Linked DNA regions of Homo sapiens: region 1 is linked to region 2. The links are contacts of gene promoters, found by promoter capture Hi-C in human tissues and cell types (Jung and others, 2019). All regions are on one chromosome and are shown on one strand. Each heading gives the region's core, a stretch centred on a gene start or on the middle of the fragment in contact. The rest is flanking DNA. Distances are from core to core; before and after follow the strand shown.

The links. Contacts are between HindIII fragments. The study calls those that stand out against the background at their distance.
Region 1: a fragment that was not itself captured here is called in contact with the fragment with the promoter of ZNF169 in region 2 in 1 of the 25 tissues and cell types used here (dorsolateral prefrontal cortex).

What each region holds. Positions count from the first base shown.
Region 1 is chr9:95,450,429-95,453,364 of GRCh38, forward strand. The region is part of intron 20 of PTCH1 (patched 1); the gene reads right to left. Among named protein-coding and RNA genes, the nearest start is that of PTCH1, 57 kb to the right of the region's middle. The HindIII fragment of the contact is 5,168 bases long and covers 1-2,936 here.
Region 2 is chr9:94,256,415-94,263,235 of GRCh38, forward strand. It overlaps ZNF169 (zinc finger protein 169), which reads left to right and starts at 2,884. Exons shown (of 5, transcript NM_194320.4): 1 at 2,884-2,931. LINC02603 (long intergenic non-protein coding RNA 2603) reads right to left here and starts at 2,897. Exons shown (of 3, transcript NR_160773.1): 1 at 2,697-2,897. RefSeq lists enhancers at 2,403-3,048, 2,887-3,206, 3,049-3,695, 3,237-3,366, 3,696-4,341. The HindIII fragment of the contact is 11,443 bases long and covers 1-6,821 here.

The DNA of each region.
Region 1 (2,936 bases), core at 358-2,857, 1.2 Mb after region 2:
TGTGAAATGCTTCTGCATCTTACGGCAGAATCTCTAATTAAGTCTCTAGCATATCAGGTAAGGCTTTCCCTGGCCTTTCATTAATCACAACTTTCTGCCTAGAATTCTGTGAGTTCCAGTTTTACCAAATAGCTCCAATTGCAACCTTTTTAGAACACAGGAACCAGCTTTCTGCAAAGAAAATGCTGCCCATTCTGTGGGAGCTGGGGCATTGTGCTGGGTGAGGGCACTCCACAATGGCGGGGCTGCTCTGCGGGCCAATCTTTTGTTGAACAATTTAGCATCTCTGAATACTCTTGTTTTGCGTCAGCCAATTCAAACATAAAGGCCGCAGCACCATGGCAGAGGAGGAGAGTGCAGAAGTAGTTCTGCTTTCCCACCATTGAGGGCTAAGGTCTGGAATCCTTCATGAATACCAAGGTAAACCTGTCAGCCAGGGACAGCCTCTGGCAGACACTCTGCATGGCTGGAGGGCACAGACTCCACGCAGGGATGCGTTTCTGGAACTAATGATTTCTAGGGCAACTCTGATGGAAGTGGGCTGGGGTAGGGGAGAGGCTCAGGATGTTCTGGGAAGGGGGGGGCAAGATATCTATCTGTTAATGGTCCTCTGGTTCATAAAATGGAACAGGCAACCAGTGCTGCCATGTCTATATATGTTTTGACATCAGATGAAAGGAGAGAGAATCCCCATAAAAATACAAATACCTCACAGCTATTGTAAACACTAGAAACTTCTGAACTACATTAGTAAAAACCAAGCAGCCAATGTCTTGGTCTAATGTAAACTGCTGGAACTTTCGGCTGGGGCATGTATCAGCAGCCACATTAAGACATTTGCATCCCATCCATCTAGCTGAAGCATAAACAGGCCAATTAGATTTCTGACGGCTTAGCATATACAGTGTCTGCTCATTTATTTGACCTTGGTGAGGCCTTTATCAGGTTAATCCATCCCATCCTAGAAAATGGGAAGCCCTTTTAAGTGCTTGAAAGAGGAACCCTGATATTTCTGGGCGGGAACAACCCCGGCTGAGAGGAGAGCGCTGGGATTCCAGCTGCCAGGTTTCCAGCTGGGGGCTCTAATTCAGGCTAAGTTTCCTCATTCAGCATCCCCCACAAGGCTGAGCGAGACCCTCCTGTAACTCATGAGACCCCAGCACACCTTGCATTTCCCCTGGTTTTGCCTGTGAACTTGTCTCTCCCCTAAAAGACCTTAGGCTACACAGAGGGATATGGGGGTCCCCATTATTTGCTGTTGTGCAAATGGCACTTATGGGGTGCTTGTTATATTTGTGTTAAACGAGAAAGTAAATATGCAAAAGAAACTCTACTTGACATTGAGCTTTTATATCATAATGATAACGTTAGTGCCTGAAAAAGTGTATACTAAGAACAAAGGAAAAGCTAAAATCAAACTAAGAACTAAAATAAAACACAGACCAAAACATTTAACTCAGTTGGGCAACTCTCTACTTGGTATTGGCAAACAGGAATTTAGGAACTGGCTTGCTGGCTTAGCAGTAGTTTGTGCTGAGAAGTCTAGCTCCATGGACATTGCAGGGAGGTAGCTGGAGATGCAGACCCAGCCCTCATCCCACCTCCCGCCCCCCGAAATCGGCCCTGCACTTAGACCCTCAGATGATTCCTCAGCACATCGGTGTGAGAAGCGCTGGTCTACAGCGATTCCACTTCACCATTCACTCTATGCAAAAACTACAATAAGCAAGCTTGGCACTCATTCTAAGAAGGCGGCCTCCATGATGCCAAATTGCCCAGTGGGCTATGCCACAGGCCAACCAATGGACTCATCTCTTTCCCGTAATAAAACTTTGGCTAAAACTTCTAGTTGAAACCCTCTTCTTTTTACTTGAAGATAAGAAGCGTATCTCTCTCTCTGACACACACACACACACACACACACACACAACCTCTCAGTACTGAAGCGTGCCAAACAAACCAATCATTTCTCACATCTGGTTCTGCCCTGTCATGGTTCTAATCCTGGACTATCTTTTACTTATTGGTGATTCTGGCCTTAGAGCTCCATAAAGTAGCAGAGTTCTATCCAAGAGCAGGTCCCTCACAAAGCCATGGAGGCTGCTCAAAGAAGCAAGTGGTTTCCTCCTCTGCAGTTCTCAAATTCTTTTCAAAAGGAAAACTCACTGTTCTTTTATATTTCACAAAGTCATATTCTTAATTAAATCAACTGGAAACGACTTGCCTTGAGATCCAAACTAGGCTTAGATTCCCAAGAGTTGACACCAAAGTCCAATGCTAAATGCTTCCTAATTGTGGGGACTCGAATATGAAATCTGAGCACGTCATTTTCACTTCTTAAAAGAATAAAGTCAGGTGACAATTTTAGGTATTTTTAAGTTTTCCTTTCTACAGTTTGAAGGAGAGGGAGCGTAGGTCAAATGTGGCATTTCTTTCTGCAGTGTTTCTAACCCGAGACAATAATGGGCCACCTATTGGGTGATCCTTTGGCTTCAAGCTGCAGAGTTGTCTTTGCTGCCAGCCCCAAATCCTTTACCTTCTGTTTTCAAGATACTCCCCAAGACAGCTCTAGAAGAGAGCTTGTCTTTATACCTCCGAATATCTCTACGTTAACAAGTTCAAAAGAAAGCAGAGTCACGATGACGAGGTGCTGCAATCTACCAGATACAGAAGGAAATAAGCAACGAAGATCACCTGAGCTAATAACAATATTTTTTTTTTTGAGACAGAATCTCGCTCTGTCACCCAGGCTGGAGTGTAGTGGCGCAATCTCAGCTCACTGCAACCTCCGCCTCCCGGGTTCGAGCAATTCTCTGCCTCAGCCTCCCAAGTAGCTGGGATTACAGGCACCCACCACCACGCCCGGCTAATTTTTGTATTTTGAGTGGAGATGAGTTTCACCATCTTGGCCAGGCTGGTCTTGAACTCCTTGACCT
Region 2 (6,821 bases), core at 1,634-4,133:
AGTGTTTCCTGTAGCTTCTTGAAGTTGTAGTTATAATAAATGTTTTAGTGCTCTTATCTTGGTTTTTTTTTTTTAGACAGGGTCTCGAAGTGTTTCCTGTAGCTTCTTGAAGTTGTAGTTACAATAAATGTTTTAGTGCTCTTATCTTGGTTTTTTTTTTTTAGACAGGGTCTTGCTAGGGTCTTGCCCAGGATGGTCTGGAACCCCTAGGTTTAAGCAATTGTCCCAATCGTTTTAAGCAGCCTCCTAAGTAGCTGCAACTACAGACGCATGCCACTGTGCCCAGCTTGTGTCCTTACCTTTTAATTATATCTTCTGTGTAATTTCTATTGGTTGACTTTTCTCTTCATTTTGGGGAATATATTCTTTGCATGCTAGCATTTTTTTAATTGGAATTCTAAAATCCAGGGTCTTAGGATGGAAGCAGGTGTAAGAATAGAAAAAAAAAAAAAAAGTCCCCAATTTTGCCTTATTGGATGCTGGATAGTTTTGTATTCTTTTAAATATTCTTGAGCTTTTTATCTGGGATGCAGTTAAGTTACTTGGGAACAATTCAGTCCTTTCTAGGCTTGGATTTAAGCTCTGTTAGGTGAGACCAGAGAAGCATTTAGGTTAATTTTTGCCCCACTATTGAGGCAAAACCCTTCCGAGTACATGACTTGATGCCATGTGAATTAGCATTTCCACTCTGTCTCGTGGGAACAGACATTATTCCTGTTCTTTTTGAGCTCACAGTATTGCCCTCTAACCCTTTCTAGTGTTTTTTACCCCTAATTTTGAGGAGTTTCCTCACATGTACATGCTGGTCAGCACTTAACTAATACCTGAGGAAGAGGACTCTCTGCACATCTCTGGCGCTCTCTCTCCCTTTCTGTACTCTGCCCTGTGAACTCTAGATGCATATGCCTCCTCAGATTCCCAGTTCCATCTCCTCAAGTTGAACTCCATGCTTCACTTGAGTTTCCCTTCTCTGTGCTATGACTTGGAAATTCTCTCCATCTGCGGGAAGTTCAAAGGCTCACCTCCATGATTTCCACTGCTCTTCATTGTCTGATGTCAAATGTCTTCAAATGTTTCATATATTTTGTCCTTTTAAATGTTGATTAAGGTGAAGGGCTAAATCTGGTTCCTGTTACTTCATTTTGAGAAGAAGCAAATAGGAAGTAACTTAAAAATACCACTTTTTATCAAATTCTTAGAAAAAGAGTATAACTCATTTTGCAAAGACTTTGGTATGTTTTTGAGCGTATTATTCTGTTACATCTAATAAACAATCTTTGCATTAGTAAGATAACTTTAATTGCTATAGTGTTAAATGTCCTCAAGTTTAGTTTTTCCTTATCTTCTTGTAATCAATTGGAATTAAAAAAAAAACTTCAGAATCTTCTTCTTTATAACAGGAAAAAAAACCCCAGTATTTTTGGCATTTTTAGAAGTACATTCATACACACTGTCATTTAAAACATGGGGGTGGGAGGTGGAGCAAGATGGTGGAATGGAAGGCTCCACTGATCATTCCCCCTTGTAAGAAAAACAAGTTAACAACTATTTACACACAAAAGCACCTTCACAAGAACCAAAAATCAGGTAAGCACTCGCAGTACCTGGTTTTTACTTCATATGACTGAAAGAGGCACTGAAAAGGTAGGAAAGACAGTCTTGAATCACCAATGCCCCTGACCCATCCCCCAGCAGTGGCTCTGTGGTGCGGAGAGAGAATCTATGTTCTTGGGAGACGGCAAGCACAGCAATGATGAGACATTGCATTGAACTCAGTGCTGCCCTGTTATACCAGAAAGCAAAACTGGATCAAACACAGCTGATTCTCACGCATGGAGGGAGTATTTACACCAGCCTTAGCCCGAGGAGAATCACCTATCCCAGCAGTTGGAATTTGAGTTACTGCCAATCTCACCACCTCTGGCTAGAGGGCCCTAAATAAACTCGAAAGGCAGCCTGGGCCACAAGGACGGCTCACGCCTGTAATCCCAGCACTTTGGGAGCCTGAAGTGGGAAAATTGCTTGAGGCCAGGAGTTCCAGACCAGCCTGGTCAACATAGCGAGACCCAGATTCTTTTTTTTTTTTTTCCCCCTTGAGAAGGAATCTCACTCTGTTGTCCAGGCTGGAGTACAGTGGTGCGATCTTGGCTCACTGCAACCTCCACCTCCCGAGTTCAAAGTGATTCTCCTGCCTCACCCTCCTGAGTAGCCGGGACTACAGGCGCCCATCACGACGCCCAGGTAATTTTTGTATTTTTAGTAGAGACGGGATTTTACCACATTGGCCAGGCTGCTCTCGAACTCCTGACCTCTGATCCGCCCGCCTCAGCCTCCCAAAGTGCTGGGATTACAGGCGTGAGCCACCGCGCCCGGCCGCGAGACCCAGATTCTAAAAAACAAAACAAAAAATTAGCCCGGTGTGGTGCTATGCACCTGTATTCCCAGCTACTCAGAAAGTTGAGGTGAGAGGATTGCTTGGCCAGGGGTTTGAGGCTGCAGTGAGCTATGATCACACCATTGTACTGCAGCCTGGCCGACAGAGCAAGACCCCTTCTCAAAAAATAAGTAAGTAGATAAAGTTCAGGGGTGTACAATCACAGGTGTGAATTTGCAGGATGGAGGACATGTAACATCTTTTTAAAAAAAAAAAAAATTAGAAGGACCGTATAAAAAGTTAAAGAAGACTTACTGCTCACCTGACCACCCTTCTCATAGACCCGAAAGTTAGATTTTACTTTCTGATTTTTCACAATTTCTCCTGGATGCTGCGGTCCCGCCCCTCGCAGCATTCTGGATGTTGTAGTCCCTCGCTCCAGGGCATCCACGGTAGGGTAGTTGCGCGCCCCGTGGCAGTCTGGGTAGTGTAGTTCCGTGCCCAGGGGCAGTCCGGCTCGCGTACTTCCGCGTTCCGGCATCGTCGCCTGGTGCGTGGTGAGTGTCCTTTCACAGTTCTGGTGAGCTAGCCCGGAGGTGGTCCCCGCTTTCGCGGGCCTTCCACTGGAAGGAAGGTCGGGAAAGCTGGCATGGGCAGTCCATGTCGTGGCCACATGTTCCTTGGTGTTTTGAGTTTCGGCTGTGGGGTCTGGGCGTGCGTGGTCCACCCCGGAGAGAGGTCTTGGCGGAGGTCCTCTGGTGGGGAGGGGGCGTTGGCGTTGTCGCGTGCTTCTGGCGGGACTTTGGGCCCAGTATGTTGACCTGGAGGGGCCAGTGCAGGCCTGGGACCGACTTCCCGAGCTACTTCGCAGGTGCGTCCCCGGTACTTCGGGGGCCGCTGAGTGGGCTCTGCCTGGGGTACCCAGACAGCATCCTGCCACTAGTATCCCGCCATCCCCTCCCCACCATCGCGCCTCGGAGGTCTCTGGGCCAGCAAATGTGCCTTTGGAGGACATGATATCCTCGGTTGGAGCAAACTTCCCCATTAGTGGGAGGCACGCGGCTTGGGCATCAGTCGGGTTGTTTATTTGTTTATTTATTAAATTTTATTTATTTATTTATTTATTTTTGAAACAGAGTCTCTCTCTGTCGCCCAGGCTGGAGTGCAGTGGCGCAATCTCGGTTCACTGCAATCTCCGCGCCCCACCCCAGCCGCCGGGTTCAAGCCATGCTCCCGCGTCAGCCTCCCGAGCAGCTGGGATTACAGGCACCCGCCACCACGCCCGGCTAATTTTTTGGTTTTTGTTTTGTTTTGTTTTTTTGAGACAGAGTTTCGCTCTTGTCGCCCAGGCTGGAGTGCAGTGGCGTGATTCCCCTGCCTCAGGCTCCCGAGTAGCTGGGACTACAGGCGCACGCCACCACGCCCGGCTAATATTTTGTGTTTTAGTAGAGACGGGGTTTCACCATGTTGGCAAGGCTGGTCTCGAACTCCTGACCTCAAGTAATCCCCCCGCCTCGGCCTCCCAAAGTACTGGGATTACAGGCGTGAGCCACCGTGCCCAACCTCAGTCCAGTTATTAGGGCTCTTGTGGATGGCTGGTGCACTGTGGTGGTGATGGTGCAGCTTGGCCACTAGGACCCGGGTTTGTGGGGGAGGATTGTTTGTGGGTAGACATCCAGACTTGGTCTTGATAGTGGGGGGGGGGACGGCTAGGGCCGTGCGACTCGGGTCAGTAGCCTTGGGGCCTGGGGACCCAAGTTGGTGAGTTGAGAAGGGCTTGCCTGGAGTTAGACATCCCTGGGTTGTGGGTTGCATGGGGGCGTGCTTGTATCCAGATTGTCGGCTTCTGCAGCTGTGTGGCTCCCTCGGACTTGGGGACCCTTCCGGGAGCATGGGTTGCAACAAGCAGAATGGTGCCCATAGGGCCAAGGAACATTTTTCTCAAGCCTCAGGGGGCTGTTGAGTGACTCCTTGAATTCCTGGAGGTGGGGGAAGAAGTTGGGTGGAAGGCATCCAAACCTACATTTTTTTTTTTTTTTTTTTTTTTTTTGAGATGAAGTCTCACTCTGTCGCCCAGGCTGGAGTGCAGTGGAGTGATCTCAGCTCACTGCAACCACGGCCTCCCGGGTTCAAGCAATTCTCTGCCTCAGGCTCCTGAGTAGCTGGTACCACAGGCGCCCGCCACCACGCCCGGCTAATTTTTTTTGTATTTTTAGTAGAGACGGGGTTTGTTTTTTGTTTGTTTGTTTGTTTGTTTGTTTTGAGAGGGAGTCTTGCTCTGTCGCCAGGCTGGAGTGCAGTGGGGTGGCGCGGCGCGATCTCGGCTCACTGCAAACTCCGCCTCCCGGGTTCAAGGTATTCTCCTGCCTCAGCCTCCCGAGTAGCTGGGACTACAGGCACGCGCTACCACACCTGGCTAATTTTTGTGTTTTTACCATGTTGGCTAGGATGGTCTCGATCTCCCGACCTCGTGATCCGCCCGCCTCGGCCTCCCAAAGTGCTGGGATTTCAGGCGTGAGCCACCGCACCCCGCTCGAGACGGGGTTTCACCATGTTGGTCAGGCTGGTCTTGAACTCCTGACCTCCTGATCCACCGGCCTCGGCCTCCCAAAGTGCTGGGATTACAAGCGTGAGCCACTGCGCCCGGCCAAGACCTACTCTTATTTCTAACTTCTCAGTATGAAAACATTGCAAAGATATCCAGAAGTAGTTTTGAAGTTCCATGGATTCATCACTCAGATTCACCACTTACAAATGACTCACCTGTCTTCTTTCCCCCAAATCTGCAACCCCAAGTGTGGATCTCTTTGGAAATTGTCTCTTTCACTAGGGGTCTATACCAGGATTTGGTGTCTTGAGTGACCCTTCATAGAGTGAGTTCAAATCCAGGTCTCTCCCTTTGTCACTGTCACTTTGAGCAAGGTACTTAACCTCGTGGAGCTGCTGTGAATGTAGAACGAAGTAAAACTTGTGTATGACACTTCTCTGATGTAGTTCTTTAAAACAAAATTCAAATGTCATATCATTTCATCTGTAAATGGCAAAAACCACAATTACTTTTGCACCAATCTAATACTTCAGTGTTCAGTATGCATCTCTCATAAATAAGGAATTTAAAGAAAAACAACTTCAGCATTAATGATCATACCCAAGAAAATTAACAGAATTTATTTAGTATCACTTATTCAGGCTGTGTTGTTTCCGTATTTGTCTCAAAAGTTGCCTCACTACAGATATTTGTCCACTACAAAGCTTTCCTGAGTTTTCTCTGGCAGAATTACTTCCATTGTCCTTTTTAGTTTCAGAGCACTTTATTATATGAGGACTCCACGGCTGGCATGGTATATCTCAACTGTCTGACTGTCCCACTGGTTTTGAGATAGTTCTTTGAGGGGACAGGCACCTTGTCTGGCTCCTCATGGGTCACTGACACAGTGCTTGGCACCCACCTGGACTGTGCAACTGACTGACTTTGAGGGTATCAGTTGTCTTTTTTGCCTGGAAAAGGAAGTTCATGGAGGATAGAAACTCAGATGGGAAAAGGGGGTTAGGCTATTACTGGGGAAAGCCTAGGGTGCCAAGATTGTGTGTGGATCTTATCTGAGGTCAGCGAGATCTACTGCCGGGTTCTGACAAGAGAAGGGTCATGATTTCTTTTTTTCTTTTCTTTTGTTTTTGTTTTTGTTTTGAGACAGAGTTTCACTCTGTCGCCCAGGCTGGAGTGCAGTGGTGCGATCTCGGCTCACTGCAACCTCTGCCTCCCAAGTTCAAGCGATTCTCCTGCCTCAACCTCCTGAGTAGCTGGGCTACAGGCGTGCGCCACCATGCCCAGCTAAATTTTTTTGTATTTTTAATAGAGACGGGGTTTTACCATGTTGGCCAGGATGGTCTTGATCTCCTAACCTCGTGATCCGCCTGCCTCGGCCTCCCAAAGTGCTGGGATTACAGGTGTGAGCCACCTCGCTTGGCTGAGAAGGGTCATGATTTCTGACTACACTCATTACCCTATCTCTCTGCTCCCTTTTACAGTGAAAGTCATCAAAAAAATTGCATGCACTTGATGAATGCAGTGCCTTTCTGTGCATCATCTATTTAATTTCCAAGTATTTGGAGGGTTTCTAGCTATTCTTACTGACTTCTTATTTAATTCCATTCAGGTCAAAGAACAAATGATGTAGAATGTCAGTCTTTGCAAATTTATTGGGAGTTATTTCACAACCCAGCATGTAGTGTGAGTTGGGGAATGTACCATGGGCCCTTTAAAAGCATGTGCATTCTGTTGAGCAGTGATGAGCTAATATCAGTTTGGTCAAGTTAGTTATTATGTTCAAATCTTGTATTTCCTTATGGATTTTTTTTTCTAGTTATTTTATCAACTGTTGTGGCAAGGTGTTAATTCGAACTAGGATTATGGAATTGCCAATTTCTCCATCGAGTTCTGTCAATT